Linked DNA regions of Homo sapiens: all the other regions are linked to region 4. Evidence: promoter capture Hi-C in 16 types of primary human blood cells and fetal thymus (Javierre and others, 2016). All regions are on one chromosome and are shown on one strand. Each heading gives the region's core, a stretch centred on a gene start or on the middle of the fragment in contact. The rest is flanking DNA. Distances are from core to core; before and after follow the strand shown.

What was found. Contacts are between HindIII fragments. The CHiCAGO score rates a contact against its expected background, and 5 or more counts as called.
Region 1: a contact is called between a fragment that was not itself captured here and the fragment with the promoter of PHOX2A in region 4, in 1 of 17 cell types (M0 macrophages). The highest score is 5.1, in M0 macrophages.
Region 2: a fragment that was not itself captured here is called in contact with the fragment with the promoter of PHOX2A in region 4 in 3 of 17 cell types (M1 macrophages, M0 macrophages and M2 macrophages); the score reaches 8.0 in M1 macrophages.
Region 3: a contact is called between a fragment that was not itself captured here and the fragment with the promoter of PHOX2A in region 4, in 2 of 17 cell types (M1 macrophages and M0 macrophages). The highest score is 5.4, in M1 macrophages.
Region 5: a fragment that was not itself captured here is called in contact with the fragment with the promoter of PHOX2A in region 4 in 3 of 17 cell types (M1 macrophages, M0 macrophages and M2 macrophages); the score reaches 6.2 in M1 macrophages.
Region 6: a contact is called between a fragment that was not itself captured here and the fragment with the promoter of PHOX2A in region 4, in 2 of 17 cell types (megakaryocytes and erythroblasts). The highest score is 6.1, in megakaryocytes.
Region 7: a fragment that was not itself captured here is called in contact with the fragment with the promoter of PHOX2A in region 4 in 6 of 17 cell types (M1 macrophages, M2 macrophages, M0 macrophages and 3 more); the score reaches 11.4 in M1 macrophages.

Annotation. Positions count from the first base shown.
Region 1 is chr11:72,475,851-72,478,550 of GRCh38, forward strand. It overlaps the pseudogene ART2BP. Among named protein-coding and RNA genes, the nearest start is that of CLPB, 43 kb to the left of the region's middle. The HindIII fragment of the contact is 3,151 bases long and covers 1-2,700 here.
Region 2 is chr11:72,458,836-72,461,535 of GRCh38, forward strand. No RefSeq gene overlaps it. Among named protein-coding and RNA genes, the nearest start is that of CLPB, 26 kb to the left of the region's middle. The HindIII fragment of the contact is 9,489 bases long and covers 1-2,700 here.
Region 3 is chr11:72,039,335-72,042,034 of GRCh38, forward strand. All of the region lies in intron 2 of NUMA1 (nuclear mitotic apparatus protein 1), which reads right to left. Among named protein-coding and RNA genes, the nearest start is that of NUMA1-AS1, 26 kb to the left of the region's middle. RefSeq lists enhancers at 899-978, 1,459-2,244, 2,245-2,700, 2,479-2,528, 2,619-2,698. The HindIII fragment of the contact is 887 bases long and covers 955-1,841 here.
Region 4 is chr11:72,242,759-72,245,458 of GRCh38, forward strand. It overlaps PHOX2A (paired like homeobox 2A), which reads right to left and starts at 1,418. Exons shown (of 3, transcript NM_005169.4): 1 at 1,030-1,418. The coding sequence starts at 1,246. The HindIII fragment of the contact is 4,541 bases long and covers 572-2,700 here.
Region 5 is chr11:72,373,894-72,376,593 of GRCh38, forward strand. All of the region lies in intron 4 of CLPB (ClpB family mitochondrial disaggregase), which reads right to left. Among named protein-coding and RNA genes, the nearest start is that of CLPB, 59 kb to the right of the region's middle. The HindIII fragment of the contact is 5,465 bases long and covers 1-2,700 here.
Region 6 is chr11:71,991,769-71,994,504 of GRCh38, forward strand. The region is part of intron 6 of RNF121 (ring finger protein 121); the gene reads left to right. Among named protein-coding and RNA genes, the nearest start is that of IL18BP, 5.8 kb to the right of the region's middle. RefSeq lists an enhancer at 1-28. The HindIII fragment of the contact is 1,494 bases long and covers 560-2,053 here.
Region 7 is chr11:72,394,906-72,397,705 of GRCh38, forward strand. All of the region lies in intron 3 of CLPB (ClpB family mitochondrial disaggregase), which reads right to left. Among named protein-coding and RNA genes, the nearest start is that of CLPB, 38 kb to the right of the region's middle. The HindIII fragment of the contact is 4,933 bases long and covers 1-2,800 here.

The DNA of each region.
Region 1 (2,700 bases), core at 199-2,698, 230 kb after region 4:
GGAACCCTTCCTTCATTGAGGACAGAAAGTGCTCTCATGGGAATAGATATGTTTCCAGAGTTTTTTTCCTTGTTCCTAATGCTTCTACCAGAACCATGTCATTTTTTTTTTTTTTTTTTGAGACAGGGTTTTGCTCTATCACCCAGGCTAGAGTGAAATGTTGTAATCATAGCTCACTGTAGCTTCCAATATGAGCCCTCCTGGCCTCAAGATATTCTCCCACCTTAGCCTCCAGAGTAGCGGGGACTACAGGCACATGCCACAATGCCTGGCTAACTTTTTAAATTTTTTATAGAGACAGGATCTTGCTGTGTTGCCCAGGCTGGTTCAAACTCCTTTCTTTTCATGGTTAGTGGTCAGAATGAGTAGAGACTAGCATTGAAGCTGGAAAAGCTGGAAAGCACGTGTGGATTGCCTCAAGCAATCCTCCTGCCTAGGCCTCTCACAGCCGTGGGATTACAGGCAGGAGCCACTGTACCCAGCCAAGAATGTCATCTTTACCAACATGGTATCCCATACATCTGACCAAGAGGCTAATTTTATAGTGGAAGAGGTGTGGCAACAGGCTCATACCATGAGATTTATGTTAACCTTAGGATATATGTTATCACCCAGAAACAGCTGGCTTGAGAGAATCACCTATGAAGGTCATGGTTACTGAGAGAATGACCTGCTGAAGGTCAGTTATGGTGCCAGCAGAAATACAGCACCCTAACAAATGGAAGAGCAGTACATTCTTTACATCAGCAACCAATATATGACATTATTTTCTCTACAGCAGGGACACACAAGCATAGAAAGGAGGAGGGTGGAGTAAGAGAGGCCCCTCTCATGAATGCATCTAATAATCCAGTTAAAGAATATTTGCTTCTTGTCCCCACTGTCTTATTCCTTGCAGGTTTAGAAGCCTTAGTTGCTAAGGGAGAAAATGCTTCCAATAGGGAACATAGTTGCAGACTCGTTAAGTTGGAAGCTAAGACTGCTCAGTTGCCATTTTGTTTTCCTCATGCCGCTGAGCCAATAGGCAGAGATGTGGGTTACTCTATCGGCTGGGATAACTAATTCTAATTATTAAGGGGAAAGTGAATTACTGGATGTTTTAGAACAACATAATTCCTAGAAACATTAAGGAGAAACTCTAATTTTTAGTCATCTTCAGTATATCAATTATTTTATTTTAAACTTTTTTTTGTGTGTGTGGAGACTGCGTCTTGCCATCTTGCCCAGGCTGGTCTCAAACTCCTGGCCTCAAGCTATCCTCCTGCTTCAGCCTCCCAAAGTGCTAAAATTACAGGCATGGACCACCATACCTGGCCCAGTTATTTTATTTTAAGTATGACTTGACAATCTAGGGACATGTGGTTTAACATGAAATGTGAGAAGTTGGAATTCTTTTCTAACCTTTGGTCTGGGGAAGGACCTTGAAAGGTTAGTCTAGCCTAGGGATAAAAGCAGAAAACTCAACCTTTTTATGGGTTACATGGGAAAGGTATCAGGGGAGTGGACAGGCTCAGTTTATGATCACTCTCTGAAATGACGAAGACTTCTCAAATAAAAGAAGTTCAAAAATGGAGTCACAGCTGGGCTTGGTGGCTCACGCCTCTAATTCCAATAACTGAAGAGGCTGAAGGAGGGCGGGTTGCTTGAGGCCCGGAGATTGAGGCCAGTTTGGGCAACATAGCAAAACCCCACCTCGCTTAAATCTCTCTTAAAAAAAAATTCCAGCCACTTAGCCAGGCTTGATGGTGCGTGCCTGTAGTTCCAGCTACTCAGAAGTCTGAGGTGGGAGGATTGCTTGAGCCCAGGAGTTCAAGGCTACCGTGAACCATGATCGGACCACTGCACTCCAGTCTGGGTGACAGAGCAAGACCCCGACTCTAAAAATAACAAAATAAAAATTTAAAAATGGAGTCAGATCAAGGAGAACTCAAAGACAGCAAAGAGGCTTACTACAGATACTCACTCTTATCCTGCTGGCCCTGTCGACCATTCTCAGGTTCTGCCGTGCTCCAGATTCTGGCAGAATTAGGTCAGACGGCGGTGGAATATAGGACTGCAGACTTAAAGATGATAATAACATTCCATCGTTTAATAAAAATAGCTCCATGCTGGAAGAAATGGAAAACACGCACCATTGAGAAATTTTCTGTTGGAACTTACCTAAGATGGAAGGTGTCCAGGATGCAGACGTAAATGCAAGTCTGGAGTTCTGGACCCTACACTGGTGGTTGATGGTCGTTAGCACAGAAATAAGGCAACAACAATGAAGTTAGTGCTCAGGCCTCACTTTCACGGTCTTATGTGAAGTCTTTGTTCAACTACTAGATGACATCAATTTTAGACATGACAGATCACCTTTTGACTCCAATTTGGTGGCTAATAGTACAGGTAATATTTACTACCTCTGGACCCTCATCCTACTGACAGCTACTCCTTCATATTTTATAAAACAAGAAGACCCTGGAGTGGAGCTATGATGAGGGTCTGTTAGAGATGGTGGATTATAAATAAGAATCACAATTTTTCAGCCAGGCACGGTGGCTCACACCTGTAATCCCAGCACTTTGAGAGGCTGAAGTGGGTGGATCCTTTGAGCTCCGGATTTAAGACCAGCCTGGGCAACATGGCAAAACCCGTTGCTACCAAAAATACAAAAATTAGCTGGGCGTGGTGGCACGCCTGTGGTCTCAGCTACATGGG
Region 2 (2,700 bases), core at 144-2,643, 220 kb after region 4:
AGTGAGAGCATCATTTTTTTTCTCATGCAAGATTCAGAAATGAATGGGTCTGAGCAGATCTATGTGGTGCAATGCATGGATGTGCAAGATCCAGTTTCTTTGCACCCCAAATGTGTTGAGCCTGACTTTTCCGCTCCTCTTCCCCAGGGCCTGAGCCTCTTGCCCTATTTTCTGGCTGGATTGGCCCTGGGGATGGCTCATTTCATTCCAGTGGTCATCGCCGTGGCTCTGGTTGCCTCAGCGGAACCTCAGGGTTGGACAAGGCTTCAGCACAGCTTCTGTCACAGCCACTGCCATAGGAGCTGTGGCAGCTTCGATACCACGTCTCACCTGACTGGGTCCATGGAGGCTCTGGCTTCCCCTGTGACTTCCCAGAGTGGTCAATACACAACCTGCAAATCGTAGGGAATTAAAGCTCCATGGGGATGATTTTGACCAAGGAGAAGAATGCCAGAAGGCTTGAGAAGGAGTTGAATAACCTCTGCGTGCCCCTGCTGAATTGGGTTTAGACGCCGTGGTCCTCTGGCCTCTCTGGAGGAGCCCTGTGAGCCCCGCGGTTGGATATTCTTGGAAGATGTTGCCAGCTCTACAGCACACTTTGTGGTTGCTCTCCTGACTTTCCTGCCTGACTGCTCCTTTCCCTCATTCTTGCTTCTTTCTCAGTAAAGCATCAGCACATTTGCTTTGCTTCAGGCTGACTCTGTGTTCCAGGGACCCTGGCCTAGGAAAGAGGTGTGTTCAGAGCATGGGATATTTGAAACTGAACTAGTGATGGGATTGAGGTGATTGTTATGACAAGACTTAAAATATGACCATGGAAGACAATCGCTTAGGTAGAATGGATGACCAGTTCGTTGGAGAAGAGAATATCATGGAATCTAGAGTCCAGGTTCCTGGAATAATCATCCATGTGGGTATGGAAATCTCTAGGAATGTTGGTGAGGATGATCCAGGAGCTAAACTCTTCAAAGCATGGGGGAAGGTGGCAGAGATGCCTGCAGACAGAGGGACTGTGGATTGTGGATACTGAGTCTGAAAGAGAGGGCATCTGGGATTAGCAACGGGGAACGAGGAGAACATCTAACTACCCCCCAGGCCCAGTAATAGAAGGGCTGTGGGAGGGCAAGCAACCACCTCTGAAGAGGACAGCAAAGAAAGAAGTATCCTTAGAGCATGAGGATGAAGAGAACATTTTGGAAAGAGAGTTAGGGTGCAGAATGTTCTGCTGATGAATAACTTTGAGCTCCAGAGTGCACGGTGGAAAGGTTTCAGGAGATGAGGAGCTATGGAAGATGGGGTTGAAAGGTAGTGCACAAGCTGAATGGGGATTAGAGGTGGGGAATGAGGAATGATGCGGTGGCTACAAGCACAAGACTAAAGGGCCTAGTAAGATTCATCCTGACAGTCCCCAGGTAGAGTGACAGAGCAGCTGCAAGTGTTCAGGGAAGCGGGAGTGTGAGCTCTTGTCCAGAGTGTGCCCATTCAGGGGTTCCCACTCAGCCTTGCTGAGAGAGGAGGGGGGGTCCTGCAGGCATGGGGGATGTGTCCTGTTCTGAATGCACAAGCTCCTCCTTCCTCCCTGAAGGATGTCTCACTCAGTTAGGCTGGGATGTCTTCTTTTTCGTTGTCTTTTGGTTGTATGTTTTGCAGGGGACTGTTCTTCTTTGCTTGCACTTGGTACATGTCTACTTATTTCTAAGACACCATTACACTTAGACAAACTTTCATGTTCTTCTATTTTTCTTTTCATTCCCTCACCTATTTTACATAACTCTTTGATTCTCTATCTTCTTATGAAAAAGAGACTATTTTTAATTTCTTGACATTTCTCCTATTCTCTTTTGCTGTGACACCAACTCCTTCTTTTACCTTAACTGACTTTGCACTTGTTTGAGCTCGTTCAGCCTGACACTGCCAGCCCAGACGGTTTCCCACTTCTTCCAAGAGATATGCAAACCTCCCTCCTCCTTTGAGCCCACTCTTCAGAAGGATTTGGTGACCTGTACACAATAACCTGAGTTTACTGGCTTTGTGCTTTTTATTACTATTAATTAATCTTGATATCTTCCCTTCTTCCATCACAGTAGACTTCCTCTCTGTTCAGTATTGCCTAGCTAATATTTCTCCACCTTTTACTTACATTTTCCATCTTCCATAGCATTGCCCTTATCCACAAAATTACCCTCACTTTCTACAAGTATACCCCCACCTTCTACAAGTACACTCTTACTTTAAAAAATACTTTTGGCCAGGCGCGGTGGCTCACGCCTGTAATCCCAGCACTTTGAGAGGCCAAGGCAGGCGGATCCCCTGAGGTCAGGAGTTCGAGACCAGCCTGGCCAACATGGTGAAGCCCTGTCTCTACTAAAAATACAAAAAAATTAGCCGGTTGTGCTGGCGTGAGCCTGTAGTCCCAGCTACTTGGGATGCTGAGGCAAGAGAATCACTTGAACCTGGGAGGTGGAGATACAGGTTGCAGTGAGCCGAGATCACGCCATTGCACTCCAGTCTGGGTGACAGAGCGAGACTCTGTCTCAAACAAAACAAAACAAAACAAAACAAAAAAGCAGTGCATGGTGGCTCACGCCTGTAATCCCAACACTTTGGGAGGCCGAGGAGGGTGGATCATGAGGTCAAGAGATTGAGACCATCCTGAACAACATAATGAAACCCCGTCTCTACTAAAAATACAAAAAATAG
Region 3 (2,700 bases), core at 148-2,647, 200 kb before region 4:
TGAGCTGCAGCAGCACTGCTCTCCTTACCCCGCCCTTGGCCTGGGTGCCAGCTCCTTTGAGACTGCCTCTTAGCCACTTACTGCCCATCAAGGGAACACCAGACCTACCTCAAGATAACACCAAAGTGACCTTTGGTCCCAGAGAGTTGTTAAACTATACCGATCTCTCAGCTCATGGGCCCTTGCTTCTGCTGAACCCTCATTCTCTTAGTGCTAACTCCCACTCCCAGAATTTCAGGGCCCAAAGCCCACACAAGCTCCCACCTCAAAGGGTCCTTCCCAGAACCCCACCCCCTTCTCCACCTGATAGTTCCAAAGGCCTACAGCCTCACAGCTCACAAAGGAAATGGCTGCCCCATCTGTGCGCCAGTGCTCACTTGCAAAATTTACCACCACTTACCCTGAGACGCTGCCTGCCTGTAGCCTAAGAATTCCATGCTCTGTACCCCTTTCTTAGAAAGATACTCCCCATCTGAGAGACACTCACATCCAAAGAGTGAAAACCCTGATCTTGGGGCTCCTCCTCCTCCAACTCTAGGACGGATAGGCCAGGAGGCACATGCAAGCAAACACCGAGATCTCACCTGGCAGGTTACCCAGAGGGGCCAAGCCACCTTGCCCTAGGCTAATAAGCTATAAAAACAGCATAGGAAATACTTTGCTGGTACATCCCCTGCCTCTGAGAAGATAAAAGGCAAGAGGACCAGTGGCTCCAAGAGACGCCATACAGAGAAAAACAATCTTTCTCAATTCCTGGGGAGTCCTGGGTAGACCGTCTGGTCCAAGTCCAAAGAGTTTCCTGAGGTCGGGGCAAACCAGTTTGGTCCATCTAAAGGGACTAGCTTGGGCTGAAGCCTCCTCTTCACACAGACCACTCCATCTTTGTAGCCTAGAGTTTGGCACAGAACCCCAAAGCCCTGGAGAGGAACAAGGGAGGGATTACAGAGGAAACCAAGCTTCTCTGGTTTCTTCAAAAGTGGCTTACAGATGTCTGCCCCTTCTCCCCGTTCTCTGGAGGGTCCAGATCAGGATGATGGCAAAAGAGCTGCAATCAGGAACCAGACCTGCAACCAGGCCTGCAGCCATGTATTGTACTGGGGCGCGTACACATACACACACACACACACACACACACACACACACACACACACACACACACACACACACACACACACACTGACCTGGGCCCCCCACCACTATATTCACACACCCTGGTCCCTATCAGCTGACAAAATGAACCTTTTTTCACTGCCCACCACCGTGCACACACCCACGGCCTCACGCAGAAATGGTGAAGCCCTCTCCTGAGCTGTCTCTACAGCTCAACGTGCAGGCAAACACGCTTTCCTTCTCTGAACAAAAACATGCTGACATCTACGCAAGGGGGAAAGAAAGCAACCCTTTGCTCTGAAAGGCGCCAACTCCCGGATGTTGGCAAGCTCTGCTCCACAGCGCCTGTTTCTGAGTATGTTTACTTGCTCTCCCTCTTCTCTCCCTCCCCTTTAAGGATGGCGCAGGAAAGGGAGGTGAGGGGGGAGAATCCACCCCACCCCCTCGTCCATGTTTGAACAAAAACCCAGAGAAAGAGTGAGGGAGAAAAAGTCTCGGTGCGGGGGGGCCTTACCAGACTCCTAAAGCCAAACGTATCTACAGGTTTTAATCCGCCATTAGCATTTAAATCTTGAAAGGAGAGGAGGAAGGGGGGGCCAGTGGAAAGTAACCCCACACACAAAAGAAAAGTTGTTGGTTTTCTTCTCAGTCTGCCTGGCAGGAGCGATCTTCCTGGCTGACAGCCAGAAGTGCGTCACAGCCAGGAGTCTGCTTTCTTTAAAGGCACAGCAAGCTTCCCCGATCTGGGAGCGACAGCAAGCAGGGGACTCTCAGTGGGGGTGGGGCCCAGAGGGAGGGGGTGCACTGGAGAGGAGGGGCTGCAAAGGGGAAGGCTGGAGGCTTGGTCCACGAACAAGAAAAGCAGGACGAATGGGGGCGGCGGGTTGAGGGTGAAGGCACAAGCAGGCAGGCAAAATTACTGAACTCCAACAGCAGCAAGAGCCAAGGCAAACTGTGGCATAAACACACAAAACACATCTTACAGTGGCCTGCCTGACAAACTGGGATCAACCGGACACTCCCCCTTCGCTCTGTTTTCCACCCAGAGTTTAAGGCAGCAGTAATAATCTGTCCATCTCTCTGGACAGCAATGGAAGGGTAGGACAAGGGCTGTCCTGATAATTAGATCAGCCCCTGCCTGGCGGACCGCAGGGCAAGGAGGAAGACCCGGGAACAGAGGCTTTGAAGAACAAGCAACATGCAGGCCCTCTGATCGGGGGCACCTTCCTGCCGGCCCCAGGGCAGGCTGTGTCTTTAAGTACAACCATGCCACTCACACACAAAGCGCCCTGCCACCTTCCATGGGCACCGCCTGCCCTGCTCTGGGACACGGCCACCCACTAAATCCATTCCCCGAGGGAATCTCTCCAGCCCATACCTTCTGCGTGGCAAGGCCAGGATGCCGTGCTGTGCCCGCTCCTCCCCCTCCGCCACCCAAACAAGAAGCCCAGGCAGATTCTGGCCCTGGAGTACAGGCCTGCGCTGTCCTGTGCTGCGTGCTATTGTCGGCTGTGGAATGGCCGCCAAAATCCCAGCTGTGCTGCCAGAACCTAATCCCCTGTTCCGCTGAGCATTTATGGGGAGGGGCTG
Region 4 (2,700 bases), core at 168-2,667:
CGATTCTCCTGCCTCAGACTCCCAAGTAGCTGGGATTACAGGCGTGGGCCACCATGCCCAGCTAATTTTTTTTTTTTTTTGTATTTTTAATGGAGATGGGGTTTCACCATGTTGGTTAGGCTGGTCTTGAACTCTTGACCTCAAGTGATCCACCCGCCTTGGCCTCCCAAAGTGCTGGGATTACAGGCATGAGCCACCGCGCCTGGCCCTTAGGCCCCAGTCTTCTACTTGGGTCCCCGGCAGTCTTCCCAGGAGGGAAGGCGATAAGATTACATAGGGCAGGCTGGGACTCTAATCAGAGGGCTGAGATGACTGAGAAGCTCAGTGAGGTTGAGGGTTTGGACAGGGACTTGGATCTAAAGTCTTGGGGATGCAGGAGCTGCTTCCGGGTTCTACAGAACTCTAGCTGGGAGAGTCTGGGGGAATGGGGAAATACAAGTGGCTTAAAAACCCGGGCCCCTTTATTGCGGGCTACGGGATCTGGTTTTGGTGGCTACAGAAGGGTTCGGTCCCAGGCAGCGTGGGTCCAAGACAGGGCAGGAGGGGCCTGATGGCCACGCGAGCTCTAGGAAGCTTCCCGTCTGGGCAGCTCAGCTGCCTGGAGAGGTCCTTGCTGGGGGTCATGCATCTCGTGGGGCAGCGGTGATGGGGTGGGGTGATAAGTGGTGATAGGGCTGGGCTGGGAGCCTTTTTCAAAGATCCAGCGCTTGTAGAGGTTTAGTGGTCAGTCTTTGCAGGTGGTGAGGGGAAGGCCTGGTAAGGGGCCCAGAGCTGGATGGGGATATATTTCCTTGACCTGAAGGGCACGAGACAGAGATTTGGCAACGAGAAAAAGGAACAGGAGAGATGAGAGGGTGAGGCTCATTCCTGCGGAGGAGAACCTCGTATTCTGGGGGTCTCTCGGGGCATTGGAGGGTCTGGCCAAGGCAGGAATGGGGGCGGCTGAGGGGGACAGTCGCATTCACTTGGCGAGCGGGCCCAGGGATTCTGCAGGAATTGGAGGGAGGGTTGGGCCGGGGCTGCGCTCACCTGCCGAGTAGGGCGCGGGCTGGTGGTCGCGTAGGGCGCCAAGTGCGCAGTTGGAGGAGCCGAGCGCGGGGCAGGGCGGCCCTGCCGCGGGGAAAGCGGGCCGCAGGGGGCTGTATTGGAAGCCGCCGGGCTGGCTGCAGGCGCCAAAGTCGCCGTAGGCGGACGCCTCCATGGCCGCCACGCACGAGTCGTACGAATTGAGGTAGGAGTAGTCCATCGGCCCGGGGGGCGGGGGCGGGGGCCGGGCCAGGCCGGGTCGGGGTCGGGGTCCGGGTGGAGGTCGGAAGGGAGGTTCGAGCGCCAGGCTCCGAGGACCCGAGGCCAGCTCTGAGCGCCCGAGAGTCCGCCCGCCCCGTCGCGGCCGCACTCAGCCCGGGTGCAACGCAAGTGCAGCCAGCCCGGCCCGCGCGCCTTTTAACGCGCAGGACCCCGCGGAGGGGGGCGGGGCGGGGCGAGCTCCGAAGGGGCGGGGCCTAGGAGGCCCAGACACCGCCCAAAGCCGCCCCGACCCCCACCCCGAAGGGTCCCCGCCGCCGTCTTAGGGCTCAGAGGTGTGGAGCTGGGATGCGCGGGACCCTATCCCCGGAGTCCCTATCCTGCCCCAATCCGGACCAGACCTTCGGTCTCTACACAGCGTCCGAGGCCAGAGGGTCCCGACCCTTTTCCCGGGCCTCCCCACCTGCGGCCCCGCGGAAGGGAGGGGAGGCAGGCCTGGCGGCGCTCGTGTGAAGAAGTTAATTCAATTCGCTCTGATAACCGAGTTATTCCGATCTGGCCCCTCAGCCCCGCCCCCAGCGAGGTCCCATCCCGGCGGAGACTGCGGAGGCGGCCCAGGAAGGGGGATGGAGACCGGGAAGAGACGGAGCCTGGGATGGGGACAGGGAAGGGACGTGGATAGACAGAGGAAACAGAGACCGGGAGAGAAAGGGGCAGAAACAGTGATGGAGACAGGGACAAGAGATACAGGTACACAGAGGGAGACAAGGACGGAACATACACAGCGAAAGACAGGATGGAGCGGGGACAGGGCAGAGACAGGAGATGAGGGTAAGAGAGAGACAGGATGGAGCGGGGACAGGGCAGAGACAGGAGATGAGGTTAAGAGAGAGACAAGAGGAGACAGGGAGACAGGGGGACGAGAAAGAGAGTGAGGGAGGCATGGAGACAGAAGGGGTCGGGATGAGACATGGACGGCAACCAGGACTGCGGTGGAGAGCAAGGGAGGGATGAGACAAAACAGAGGCAGGAATCGTGAGACAGACACATATGCCCAGGGACAGTCTGAGAGAGACAGGGCCAGGGACAGCCACAAGCGCGGGAGCAGAGGCTGAGAGCGGAGAGAAAACGCCTCCGGGGAGCTTAGACACGAGGGCTGGAGCGCAGAGGGGCCCAGGGATGATGCTGGAGGCTCTGGGGTGCGGCCTCCACGGGGCTGCGGAGAGGGAGGGTCGTGGGAGCCAGGTCCCTCTACCCTGACTTGTCCCGAGGCCCACACGACCTTGCACCTTCAGGGCCCGCCTGCCTCTCCCCCCGTTCCCTCAGCTCCATCTGCAGTATGCGACCCTCTCCTGTGACCTTGGGCTCAGGATGCGATGGATGTCAGAAAGGGAACGTACCCCGTGACCTCTTTATTGTTCTTCAGTCTCTTACCCCTGTTCTCCAGGGCCCCCC
Region 5 (2,700 bases), core at 76-2,575, 130 kb after region 4:
AGGTTGCAGTGAGCCGAGATCATGTCATTGCACTCCAGTCTGGGTAACAAGAGCGAAACTCTGTCTCAAAAAAAAAAAAAAAAAAAAAAGAACATTACTTGCTCTGATAGTGAGCCTAGAGCTTCTAAACATTAGAAATCACATGGCTGACAGGGGCACCGGAGGCCAGATAATCCAATGACCCATGGCGAGAATCCCCTTTACAGAATCCATGATGGGCAGACATCTCAGCTGTTAGTACCCCTTGAGTGGTGAGTTGCTCAATACCTCCTAGGCAGGCTTCCTGCTTTACACTTTGCCAAAACCCACCTCCATAGAGAAATTCTTTATTAAATGTCACTGTGCTTTAAATATATATGATTATCTCTAATCATCCTAACAACCCTATAAGATGGGTATTGTTTTTACTATGTTACAGATGAGAAAATTGAAATTCAGAGACTTTAAGTCATTTACTCAAGATCACACATCTAGTAATAGAGCTTAGATGAATCATTCAGATATCTGGTACTGAAGCCCAATCTTTCTCTAGGACACCAATGTGCCTCTGAAGATGCCACTCTGAGGGCTGGAGGGAAAGCAAAGAACAATCAGGCCAACAAGATTTCCATACCAAGCATCCTTGGGTTACCTGAACCAGTAAGACTGCCCTCTACCCAGAAACACCAACTTTGACAAAAGTGGACCCAGCTAAGTAGGCTTCTTGCTAAAGAGCAAATGCTCACATGACATGGGAGAAGAGTGTCACTAGGAATGGCATAACCAAAGATAAAGTCTCAGCAAGGATGGCAAAGAAGTTTCTTTCCTCCCTAGGCTGTGTCTGTTCTCAGCAGGTAAAACAGATACAAAGCATCTTTGATACCTTTTAGTTTTCTTGCCTGGATCCTTTTTCCTGCTCACACCTTAAATGCTGGTATCCTGAGTAAAGGACTTGTCCTCCTACCACCCCCTCACTTTAAATCCTTTCTTTGGGCAATTTTGGTTACATCTATTGTTTTAACTCCCAAGGAAATGGAAAATACTCCTAAATCCCTATCTCCTGCCAAACTACTCCTTTGAGCTCTCCAGACCCACATATCTAACTATTCACTCAAATTGGAAACTGAGGTGTCACCATGCATACCTCCTTTTCCATCAATTCTCACAATCCACTGAGTACTCAATCTTCTAATATTCTGCTAATATCTATTTACTCTATTCCCAAAGATCACCTTTAGGAATCTCCAGATATTTTAAATGTTTTTTTGGAGGACAGGAGCATAGCTTCTTACAGATTCCCAAAGGAGTCCATTATCCCTAAAAAGTCAAGAACCATTGCTAATCTTTCCCCTCCAATTCCTCCTCCACCCTGTCAGAATGGTCCATCTAAAATGCAAGTGTGAATTCGACATTGCCCTGCTTAAAATCCTTTAACGGCCTTCAGAATAGAGAATGAGCTCCCTAGAACTGCCTTACAAGGTCCTTCCTATGTGTAGCCTTCTTCACTCTCCGGCCTTATTTCTTGTTATTCTCCTCAATCCTGCAGCAGATGGTTCCACCTGCTGTCACTCCCTAACCCCCACCCAACGCCTCTGCATAGACTGTTCCCTCTGCCTGGAAGGTCCATCCCTTTTAGCCTTCCTGGCAATCTCCAACTCATCCTTAAGACCCAATTCAAGGTCACTTACCCTGTGACACTTCCCAGACACCAGCCTGCTCACTTCTCAGGTAGAGCTCACCAATACTTACAGCAGTGCTGCCTACATACTTTGTGCAGCTACCATTGCATTTATCACTCTGCGTTGTGATTCCTTGTTTACAGGCTTGTCTCTGTAAATGACTGGGAGCACTGATGAGGGGCTAGACTATGTATAATCATTTATATAATCCCAGCAACTGGCAGAGTGCCTGATACTCGGTAAGAACACGCTGAATTATGCATAAATGAAACTAATAAGCAATTACAACTGTAGAGCACTTTACAATCCACATATCACATATTTTATCTCTTGATATTCACAACAATACTGATACGGAAGAAAAGGAATGTATCATTGGAGGTTAGAGAGGTCTTGCCAAAGCCACAAACTACACCTTCCTTCCAAGGGCCACAGAAATATCTATTAGAAATTTAGTGGACTTCATGGACTTGGCAGTGACTCCATAGTCTAATATAACAGCAAAGGACTGCCCAACTTTCCTGAGCTTGTGAACTTCCTGTGAATTTGCCTAGACACACTCGAAGGAAAGGGAATTACATCTCTTGTTTTACTCTACCTTCCTTACCCATCCCTACAAGTCAGGTAATTTTTCATGCAAAAGTCAATGCAATACAAAAATAAGAGAACTACAGGATTCTTTTGTTTCTATTTCATCCATGAGAATGAGTCAGAGCTGGGTATGGTGCCTTGCATACAATTGGCAGTCAATATATATTGGTTGAATGGCTTAAAAAATGAGGTTTCCTTAAACGGAAAAAGGAAAGACATGGTTAAGACGAAGCTAAAGGCTTAGGCTGATGAGAGAGAAGAGCCCTGAGAAGATTCTAAAAGACTATCACTATCCAGGTCCAAGTCGGAACGTTCAGTGCACCAAGTTGGACAGCAGAGCACATCCAAACTGATACACCCAGGAAAATAAAGCCAGCTGCCAGAAAACTGTGGCAGACAAAGGTAGTCTAGAATTATTTAAAAAAAAAAAAAAAAAGGTAGAGAGATCTTG
Region 6 (2,736 bases), core at 57-2,556, 250 kb before region 4:
GTGACTAGACTAGAAAAAAGCCTGTGGGCCAAATTAAAGATTTTGATTTTTATGCTAAAAATCCTGGGAGGGGCCGGGCACAGTGGCTCACTTTGGGAGGCTGAGGCAGGCAGATTGCTTGAGCCCAGGAGTTCAAGACCAGCCTGAGCACCATAGTGAGACCCCATCTCTACAAAAAAATGAGACAAAAAAAAAAAAAACCTAGCCGGGCGTGGTGGCACATGCCTGTAGTCCCAGCTACTTTGGAGACCAAGGTGGGAAGTCACTTGAGCCTTGCAGTGAGCTTGTTCATGCCACCAAACTCCAGCCTGGGCAACAGAGCAAGACGTTGTCTCTAAATAAGTAAAAATTCACAAAATGTATAATAATCATGCAAAGGCACAACAATAAATGATGGGGCACAAAAGTGCTTAGTCCATATTGGTAATTGTTTTTGAACTGCACAGTGGTAGGAGTTGCTCCTTACAATTTTTACTTTGTGAACTCTTATTCCTTGATTTAACCCACAGCCGCTACAACAACAGCCACTGTCACTTACTGCTTTACCAAAAATTGGGGAAGCTTTCATACTTGCTTTGTTAATCTTTAACTGTATGTGTAAAGCTACACATTTCATTTCAACATTTAATATTAAAAGTGTTTTGAGTCTTTACTTAAGAGACAATTTGGTGTCTCTTAAATAGAGGTTTAGTGATGTCTTTGTGACAGAAATATGACACAGGAACTGAACTCTTGTTTCTATCAATTAGCCTGTGGTAAAATTGGTTTTGTTATATGTCGTTTCATTTAAAGTCACAGTTTCCAAGAAACTGTCAGTGAAGTGAGGACATACTGTATTTGAGAAGTATTTTGGACTTAGATATAGTTTGGTTCTGAAGACTGAAGGGAAAAATACAAAGGAAATATAGGTTTCAAAGCTGAGATTTCTGATTCGGCAACTGCTTGGATGGTAGTACCTTTCACTGAGATAGGAAATGCTGCAAGAGCAGCAGGTGGACATCACGGAGAGATGCTTAAATATGGGTAAATTAACAGCCAATCTGAGAAACGCAAGTAAATATTTCTATTTTTTTTTTCAGAATGGAAATATATCTTTATTGTTTTGCTGTTTATAAAAGTAGTATGTTCTCTTTGTAATTATTTAAACAACACAGAAGTGCTCCCTGTCTCAGTGTCATCCCCCAAGACCCCACCCCAAGAAGGAATATTTCCATCACCTTGGGTAACTTTAATCTAGTACCGTTTAAGGCCAGGGACTTTGTCCCTCAGTATCATGGGAATATTCTAATTTTTTCTCTACTGGATCAAATTGAAAACAGTACATTGGATCACTTTATTGACAGTTTATTAGGTTCCTTTTTGAACAACTGTCTTGTGCTTTACCTTCATTTCCCTCTTACCTATTTGTGTAGACATTGGATCTTCCTTTAACCAGTTTACTCCCCAGAAGAGATTTCTAGACCATGTCACCATTTTGACCATTTTGAAGTATACAATTCATGCATTAATTACATTTGCAGTGTTCTGCAACATTTTCACTGTCTAATTCCAAAATTTTTCTTCATCCCAAACAGAAACTCTGCCCATTAAGCAGTAACTCATTACCCCTTCCCACAGCCCTGGTTTACCTCTAATATACTTTCCATCTCTGTGAACATGCCTATTGTAGATATTTCATGTAAATGGAATCATACAATATTTGTCCCTTTGGCTTTTTTCACTTAGCGTAGTGTTTTCAGAGTTCATCCATGTATAGAATGTATCATTCCTTTATATGGCTGAATAGTATTCCATTGTGTGTGACACCGCATTTGGTTTATTCATTCATCTGTGGATAGGCACTTGAGTTGTTTCCACTTTTTGGCTACTGTGAGTAACGCTGTGAGCACTGGCGTTTAAGTGTGTTTAGTCCCTAGTTTCATATCTTTTGGGTTTATACCGAGAATGGAATTGCTTGGTCATTTGGTAATTTTATGTTTAACTTTTTGAGGACATGCCAAACTCTTTGCTTTCTTAATTATGATAATGCTTAAGTGAATATCTGTATTCATGAAGCTTCTTTGACACTTCCTCTTTTTTTTTTTTTTTTTGAGATGGAGTCTCGGTCTGTTGCCCAGGCTGGAGTGCAGTGGTGCGATCTCGGCTCACTGCAAGCTCTGCCTCCCGGGTTCACGCCATTCTCCTGCCTCAGCCTCCTGAGTAGCTGGGACTACAGGCGCCCCCCACCATGCCTGGCTAATTTTTTGTATTTTTAGTAGAGACGGGGTTTCACTGTGTTAGTTAGGATGCTCTCGATCTCCTGACCTCGTGATCCGCCCTCCTTGGCCTCCCAAAGTGCTGGGGTTACAGGCGTCAGCCACCGCGCCCAGCCTCCTCTTATTTCTTTAAATTCCTTGAAGTGAAATTAATGGGTCAAAAGGTGCAACAATTTGAGATACCATGCTAAATCCTATCTGAAAGGCTTGAACCCCTTTTGCTGCTGCCACAAATGTCTGAGAATGCCCTTGTCACCAAACCAACATGGCACTTAATATTTCACTGTTTTAAATGTTGGAGAATATTGTTGTCCATTTCTGGTGGAACCATAGTCTGGCGACAGAATGGCTTGCCTGACACAGCTTTTGATCACCAGCCCCAAGTCCTTCTCCCTCCCCTTCCCCTTATCCTTTGGTGCTGATCCAGCCCAGTTTATAGGTTCTGTTACATCTAACTTCCCAACTGTCTCTAGTCTGGTCA
Region 7 (2,800 bases), core at 240-2,739, 150 kb after region 4:
CTATATCAAGGTACCCTGCTCAGGGGTCCCATGTTCTTGGGTTCCCTGCCGGTTGCTTCTACGAGCACATCTCTGCTTTCCACCTTTGTGAGCCTATGCTCACAATGGTCCTTCTGCAAATGCTCTCCCCCTACTCCCTATGTTACCAATCAAATCCTGCCCAACTCCTCTGAAAGGGCCTCTTTTCATGATGCTGGCTCTACACAGCATCATCTCCTCCACAGCACTCTATGTGTTCTTCTCTGTGGCACTGAACACATTCTGCCTCATTCTCCAAAGCGGGACTTTTATCCCTTTTCTGAGTGTCAGCTTTCTGAGAACAAGGAGAGTGGCTTGTCTGTTTTTACAGTTCTCAAAATCCATATAATACATCATGGGTCATCAAGAAACCCTGATAGAGCCGACTTGACTCCTGGTTCCAGCATCCTTCGGTCCATCCCATGGCCTTGCTCCCGGCCCCTTCCCTCCATAGGCAGTGTAGTCCAGTGGAAAGAGCAAGGGTTTGGGGTTCAGAAAGACCCAGCTTCAAATCCTGGCTCCTTCTTTTACTAGCTGGACAACCTTGGACAACTCTGAGCTTCATTTTCCCTATCTGTAAAATAGGAATAATAATCCCTTCCTTTCAAGATTGCCCTGAGGATTAGACCCAACATGGGAAGTGCTTGACATGGGCCTGGCACACAGAAAGCACCCAATCAACTACTGCCATCATCATTACTACAGTCAGGAGATCACACAGCACAAAGCCCAGCCTCCTTGGGCAGAAGGTAGCCCTACTCTACAGCACGAAGCCAGACCAAGAATAGGTTAGAAGACGGAAAAGGCTCTGTGCCCCTAAGGCAGGACCGACTTCCATGTGGTTGGTCAGGTTCCCTAAGGACCTACTTTCAAGCACAGGTACACTGGTACTCTACCTGCTCCACGTATAGCTAGCCAGGAAGGAAGCAGAGCCTCCCAGGGAGGCTGCCAGTAGTCTAGCTGCAAGATTAGCATCTGCTCTTCGCTCTAAGAACACCCATGGAGCTGTTGGGGTCCACAAAGGAAGGCCTTTAAAACCTCTTCTGTAGGACAGCAATCTGGCTTAGGCTATCGGTTTTTTAAAGAAAGGGTTTAATGCACCCTCTCCCCTTAGTAAGGCAGAGGGAAAATAAGCAAATGCTAAAAATAAATGACTGCTGTGAGAGGGAATTGAATGGTCTTCAGCCAAGGATGGCAGCACTTTAAAATTAACAAAGCCCGGGTACCACATCCAGGAAGGCCTTGGCAAATGCGTGTTATCCACTCATTAGCTCAGTTCCTCGGGGACCCTGGCCAAGCAGGGAAGGCAGTGCCGGGAACCAGTCCTTCCGACACTGATGAAATGCACTCGGGGAGAAAAGGCAGAAGGAGGGAGGGAGACTCTTGTGGGGAATTTCAAACAGTTCTGATGTGCTTCATGCTCTGCCTTGCAGTTCTCACCTTCTCCGAGGCAAAGGCTTGCAAAAGCCACCACCAAGCCCAAGCAGGATGAAATCAAAATCTCCCCACACCAGCCTCCCTTTTCAGGATCTTTGGTTCCTGAAGCACCACAACGGCCTCACTATATAGGTGGTGTCCCTGCATGAGAGTCCAGAGATAAGGAACCCAAGAATAGTGTGGGAGAGGCAAGCTCCCAGTCTGTAACCTCAACTTTCTCCTTGCTGGAATGAAGAATCATATACTTTATGAATTTATACAAGTCCACTGTACACTACTCATAAAGTGAATTTATCACTATTCATCAGTAATTATACTTCATTACATCACTGATAGTATGAATTGACAAATCTTCATTCCCTACTAAAAATCAGAATGCATATCACTCTAATGTGAGATATCATCAACAATAAGAATTCAAAACATTCCAGGTGACCATTAACAATATGAATTAATTTTGATACTACTAATACAAATTCTCAGTATGCCACTGGTCACAATTAATAATGAAAATTAGAGAGGGATGACAGCTTTTTAAAAAGTGTTTAAAGTCAGTTTACTGAAGTATCACATTTACACAGAGTAAAATTCATCCTTTTTAAGATATATAATTTAATGAATTTTGATAATTATATACATTCATGTAACCAGCATGATAATCAGGATACAGAATATTTCTCCATCATCCCAAAAAGTTCCTTTATATTCTCTTCCCATTCCCAAACACTGGCAACCACCAATCTGATTTCTGCCCCTAAAGTTCTGTCTTCTCCAGAATGTCATATACATGGAATTACAGAGCAGGTAGCTTTTTGTGTTGGTTTTAGCTTAGCATGGTGCTTTTGTTGTTGTCATTGTTTGTTTGGCTGTTTTTACCGTATGGATATACCACAATTTGTTGGTCCATTCACCAGTTGATGGACATTGCATTATATCCAGTTTTTGGTGGTCATGAATAAAGCTGCTATAAATATTTACATACAGGTATTTTTGCAGACGTACATTTTTATTTCTCTTAGACAAATACCTAGGAGTTGCTATTGCTCTGTGGTATGGTAAATGTATACTTTACCTTTATAAGAAACTGCCAAAGTGTTTTCCAATGTGGCTATACCATTATGCATTCCTATCAGTGATGTATCAATATTGTTCTGTATCCTTGTCAGCCCTTAGTATTGTCAGTTTTCCTAAATTTTAGCTACTGTAGCAGGTATGTAGTGGTATCTCATTGTGACTTGAATTTGCACTGAGTATGTTTTCATGTGCTTATTTGCCACCCATCTCTTTTTCGATGAAGCATCTGCTAAAATATTTTGCCCATTTAAAAAAATTAGATTTTTTTTAT